2 separate regions of the Homo sapiens genome follow, and region 2 is linked to region 1. The links are contacts of gene promoters, found by promoter capture Hi-C in blood cells and fetal thymus (Javierre and others, 2016). All regions are on one chromosome and are shown on one strand. The core of a region is centred on a gene start or on the middle of the fragment in contact, and the rest is flanking DNA. Distances in the headings are between cores, read along the strand shown.

What was found. The method cuts DNA at HindIII sites, captures the fragments that hold promoters and counts their contacts. A CHiCAGO score of 5 or more calls a contact.
Region 2: a fragment that was not itself captured here is called in contact with the fragment with the promoter of CDHR2 in region 1 in 4 of 17 cell types (non-activated CD4 T cells, naive CD4 T cells, total CD4 T cells and 1 more); the score reaches 6.0 in non-activated CD4 T cells.

What each region holds. Positions count from the first base shown.
Region 1 is chr5:176,547,883-176,550,774 of GRCh38, forward strand. CDHR2 (cadherin related family member 2) reads left to right here and starts at 1,460. Exons shown (of 32, transcript NM_017675.6): 1 at 1,460-1,532. RefSeq lists an enhancer at 1,732-2,665. The HindIII fragment of the contact is 9,099 bases long and covers 1-1,609 here.
Region 2 is chr5:176,495,744-176,498,635 of GRCh38, forward strand. FAF2 (Fas associated factor family member 2) reads left to right here. Exons shown (of 11, transcript NM_014613.3): 8 at 743-920. Among named protein-coding and RNA genes, the nearest start is that of RNF44, 40 kb to the right of the region's middle. The HindIII fragment of the contact is 2,862 bases long and covers 85-2,892 here.

The DNA of each region.
Region 1 (2,892 bases), core at 210-2,709:
ATGCCTGACTATAGCAACTGCCTGATATACAGTCAACACAACCCTTAACAACGGGGACACCTTCTGGGAAATGTGTCATCAGGCAATTTCGTCATTGTGTGAACATCACACAGTGACTTACACAAACCTAGGCGGTACCACCTACTACACACCCAGTCTCTATACCACCGCCTGTGCTCCTGGGCTGCTAACCTATGCAGCCTGGGACTGTACCGCACGCTGCAGGCAACTGTAACACAGGGGTAAGTATTTGTGCATGTAAACACAGAAAGGGTGCCATGAAAGATGATATTATACTCTTATGGGACCGCTATTATATGTGTGGTTCGTTGTTGACCAAAACACAGATATATGGTGCATGACTATATATCTATTGTGAATTAGACATGTCCTCTGCCCACAAGAAGAGGGCCACCCAATGGTGACGACTCAGTGGTGTGCCTTAAGAAAGTTGTGCCCAGGGTCCCCTTTCTGTGTCAACTGTGATGGCTGGGCCAAAGTGAGGATAAGAAGGACTTGTGGCTGAGCCCCTTCGGGAGGCCACCACATCGGGCAGCGCTTAAAGCCAGCCTGGGGGCCGAGCTCCGTGGCTCATCCCTGTAATCCCAGCATTTTGGAAGGCCGAGGCAGGCGGATCGCCTGAGGTTAGGAGTTCGAGACCAGCCTGGCCAACATGGTGAAACCCTGTTTCTACTAAAAATACAAAAAAAATTAGCCGGGTGTGGAGGCCCACGCCTGTAATCCCAGTTACTCGAGAGGCTGAGGTAGGAGAATTGCTTGAACCCAGGAAGCAGAGATTGCAGTGAGCCAAGATTGTGCCACTTCACTCCAGCCTGGGTGACAGAGCAAGACTCTGACTCAAAAATAAATAAATAATTAAAAAAAAAAGGCAACTTGGGAGTGGATGAAGCCCCTGGGGACGGGCAGATGCCTTTTGAGGGTCTCAATGCGGGGTGAGATCAGTGTCAACAGGCTCGAAAGTGGGTTGTCCAGGCTCAGCTAGCCCCCAGTCCTCCACGAGAACCTCACAGGGGCTGGTCTGGCCACACAGTGTTTGATTGTTACACTGTTTTACCACTTCCCTCTCCTGACTCAATCCCCCACTTGTCCACAGATCCCCTGTCACTGAAGACTCGTAGCAGGGAGGGGACGGGGGCTCTGGCATCACCTTCTGACTGTCACCGTCCCCGCCTCCAGCCTGCCCCAGTGTTGGGCCTTGTTCCCAGGTCCTCTGGGCTCAGGGTCGGCCAGGCCCCTTCTCCTGTGGTGTGGGCCTCCAGCCCCAGGAGCGCCAGGAGCTCTGGCGCCTTGGTCCCTTCCTCCTGTCCGGCGCCCCCAGCTGTACTCTGCCTCATTAGGAGTCGACCCCTCCTGGGAGGTGTGGTCTCTGGCAGGGTTAATGATTGCTCAGTGGAGGTGGAGATGGTGCCAAAGTCTGCTGGCCACATAGCTGCAGGCCGCAGAGGGTGCCCACCTGTGTGCCAGCGCCTGTCCGGCGCCTGCCTGCCGCCTCCGTGGCGAAGGGGACACAGGTAGGGACTATCCAGCTCATCGGGGGTCTCTGGGCCAGAGAAATGTGGGGGTTGGGGGGATCCCTAGAGCCAAGGCAAGCTTGGGGGTCTTTAAAAGTCTCCCCTGAAGCTGGGCAGGGGAAGTCACACGCTAGATGGGGCAGAGCCGGGTCAGGTCCCAGCCTGCTGTGAGGCCTGTTTCTTTGGTAAACATGGGATAATAATACCTCCTTCCCTGGGGGCTGATGGCCCCCTTCCCATCCAAGTCCTCAAGGGATGATTCTTCAGAGGATGGAAGGGAGGCAGGCACCCCAGGGAAACGAGGTAACTGGCCTGACCCCTTCATAGGATGCTCAGGGGTTGAGGACGGGGAAGCTGACCTGGGCTCTTACCCCAGCTGCTCGGTTCACATCCCAGCTCCACCCTGACCTTGGTGGGCTACTTAACTCTTCTGGGCCTCCGTTTCCTCATTTATCAAATGGGGATGAGAAGAGTTCCAGAAAGGGCCTGAAAAGCCCTGAGGCAAAGGTGAGCATGTGGCCTATGACCGAGCCCAGTGCCACCTCAGCCAGTGCTAGGAAGTGTCAGGCAGGGACTGACCCAGGCTGGCCCCAGCTCTGCCCAGTCCGGGCCTTGCACATCTCTCTGCCCTGGTAGAGGAGGTGGTGACCCAGCTGAGAGTCGGGGCCATGCTGCGTCACTCAGGCAGGCCTGTGCTGGGTTGGGCACCAGGCACAAGGCAGGGTCCCAGTGAGCACCGAGGTCCGGCAGATGGAAACAAGTCATGGCCCGTGTGTAGACCCCTTGATTTTTATCCTCACTCTGCTTCTCAGCAGGGGAAACTGAGGCCTGGAGAGGGGAGAGGGCTTGCCTGGGGTTGCACAACAAATATGTGAAATGCTGCCATCTGAACCCAGGGCTGTTTGAGTCTGTATGTGTCTGCTGGGCCAGGTGGCCTGGGCCATAGGCACTGGGAGGGCCCGTGGCGGGGAGCTGCGTGCTCAGGTCCCACATCCTTGCTCCGGGCACCCAGGCTCGGCTGGAGTCCGCTCTGTGGGTGCAGGCACGGCCTCCTGGATCAACGGAGCCCAGACCAAGGCTTGCCCAGGGACCCCTGGATTTGGAGGCAGCCTGGGTCTAACCTGCTGCCCCTGGCTCACCCATCTCTGGGCATCTATGAGCCTCGGTTTCCTTGGAATAATAGGATAGGATAATTCCTGCTTGGGAACAGCTGTGAGAAGTAAATGAAAAAGCAGAAGTGAAAGTGCATGGCGAGCTGGCCGTGTAGCGGTGGCGGTGCTGGGGGAGCTCTGTAGCATCGTGGCTGAGTGCACCCCGGGGGCTCCCCACACTGAAGGAGGACCCACCTCCCCACCCTGAC
Region 2 (2,892 bases), core at 266-2,765, 52 kb before region 1:
TCAAGTGATCCAACCACCTCCGCCTCCCAAAAGTGCTAGGATTAAAGGTGGAGCTACCAGCCCAGCCTCAACTTTCTATTAATAAGCTTCTTTGGAACAGAAAAACTAACCTTTTTAAGGGTGGAGAAAAGTTACGTGGGGAGAAAGGATAAGGAAAGGATTAGGCAAGAGAAAAAAAAATGATGATGGAGATTATTATCAGTATCATCAGGCTGAGACTTGCAGCCTTGTGCCCTTTTAGGTTTGAGCCCTTGTACAGGGAAAAACTGTGCCAGATTCTTTATAGATCCTTTTTGTACCATCAAGTAGACATTATCCTTAAACTCTGCAGCCTTCCCTGGCATCATCACAACAACCACACCGCCACCAGGAAAGCCTGTCCTATTCTAGTCAAGCACCTAGGGATAGGCATGCAAATTGATAACAAAAACAAAAGATTACAAAACTGGGAGGAACTGGGCATGGTGGCACACTCCTGTAATCCCTGCTTCTCAGGAGGCTGAGGTGGGAGGGTCACTTGAGCCCAGGAGCTGGAGACCAGCCTGAGCAACATAGTGAGACCCTGGCTCAAAAAAAGAAAAGAAAGAAACTAGGAGGCGGGGAAAAAGCGGAGACTAAATGATACCTCTCGTCTTCCCCAACCAGGATTAAAACAGTTCTCTCTCACTCATTGTGGAAAGTCTAAGGGTTGATCTTTTTCACCGTCAAGTCCTGCCCTTGATCTGTTGGGTCTTTTTATCAGTCTCACAGGCTTTACGAGAGAACACCTATCCATTCCTGGCCATGATTATGCTGAAGGATCGAAGGATGACTGTGGTGGGACGGCTAGAAGGCCTCATTCAACCTGATGACCTCATTAACCAACTGACATTTATCATGGATGCTAACCAGACTTACCTGGTGTCAGAACGCCTAGAAAGGTACAAGGGAGTTCCCTTCTGGAACAGAGAGAGACCAGTTGTAAATTTGGAGGGCTGACCTCTGGGGCTCTACCAATCCTGACTTCTTCTGTGCATCAGGCCGCTATTAGCTTTTAGCTTTGCCCATTTATTGTCAAAATATTTACATACTTTGACCTAAATTACTCTATATCAGGTAATCTGTTCTTAGAGATGTTCAAAATAAAGACAAGGGCTGGGTGCAGTGGCTAACACCTGAAATCCTAGCACGTTAGGAGGCTGAGGCAGGAGGATTACTTGAATCCAGACTGGGCAGCAAAGCGAGACCCCATCTCTACAAAAAATAAGAAAAAATTAGCTAGGCATGGTGGTACATGCCTGTAGTCCCAGGTCCTTGGGAGCCCGAGGCAGGAGGATTGCTTGAGGCCAGGAGTTCGAGGCAGCAGTGAGCTCTGATTGTGCCTCTGCACTCCAGCCTGGATGACAGAGCAGGACTCTGTCTTTAAAAAATAATAAATGAATGAATAAACAAAGACAGGCCTCTGTGCTCAAGAATGTATATTGTGGCATTTAGAATAGCTGAATATAATATAAAGAACTTCGATGTAAAAAAAAAAGTGGAATGGTTATAATTCCTCTCCATTACATAAGTTATGTACATTAATTATAGGAAATCCTAAAACCACAAAAAAGCACAAGGAAGAAATTTAAGATCACTGATAAACCTACCACCACTTGAACATTGTTATAAATTTTTTTAATTTTATACACAACACACACCCCTATATACGTACACATTTATTTGTAAAATTGGGATAATACTTTTTTACAACCCTTCTTTATGTAAGAATATATCACGGCCTTTTCCCTCATCATTAAATATTCTGCCACATTTTAAAAATTACTGCATAACATTCCATTATCTAAATACATCATAATTTAACCAGGCCACTCTCGTTGGATTTTTAGATTATTTTCGGTTTGTTACTATTATAATTAGCATATAGGGAGATAATTTTTTGCAATTTGTGATGGTTTCCTTAGATTAAAATTTAAATTCCTGGAAGTGCAGTTTCTGGGTGAGACAATCAATATAAGTATATTTTAAGGCTCTTGATTTGTAATGCCAACTTGCCCTCAAGAAAGTTAAACAAACTTAAATTTTATGGAAAGTTTTTAATAACATGGGGACATGCTTGTTACATATTAGAAAAATGCAGAATCAGGCCGAGCATGTTGGCTCATACCTGTAATCCGAGCATTTCGGGAGGCTGAGGTAAGAAGATTGCTTGAACTCAGGAGTTTGAGGTCAGCCCGGGCAACATGGTGAAACCCCATCTCTACAAAAAATACAAAAATTAGCTAGGCGTGGTGGCACACGCCTGTAAGCTGAGGTGGCAGGATTGCTTTAGCCTAGGAGGTTGAGGCTGCAGTGAGTCATGATCGCACCACTGCACTCTAGCCTGGGTGACAGGCTAGCCCTGTCTCCAAAAAAAAAGAAAAATGCAAGATCAAAATCCTGTAAATAATAGCGTTATTTTAACTGTGTAAAAAAATGTATAGAACAGGAAACTTTCCGAGGTAACTGAAATGTTCTGTCTTGATTGGAGTGGTGATTACATGGTTACATTTATCAAAATTCATTGAATTGTACATTTAAGATCTGTGCATTTCACTGCATGTAAATTTTATCTTAATTTTTAAAGATAAAATCTGTTCAACTATTTTGATTGGCTAAATATTTTGGCTAAGAGAAAACAGAAATTTGTTGGAGAGAAAATAGGAGATATGCCAAATGTTATAATGTTTTATCTTTGATTAGTGATTCTCTGAATGACTCTGAAAACTCTACATTTTCAGATCTGCTACAATGTGTGTATGGATATATATGTGTGTGTTTTGGTTTTATGAGATCAGTACAAAAATGCAGTCACCCAAAATGGTATTTACTTGTAAAATATGATATTGATGATCCCTTCATAATAACAGTACT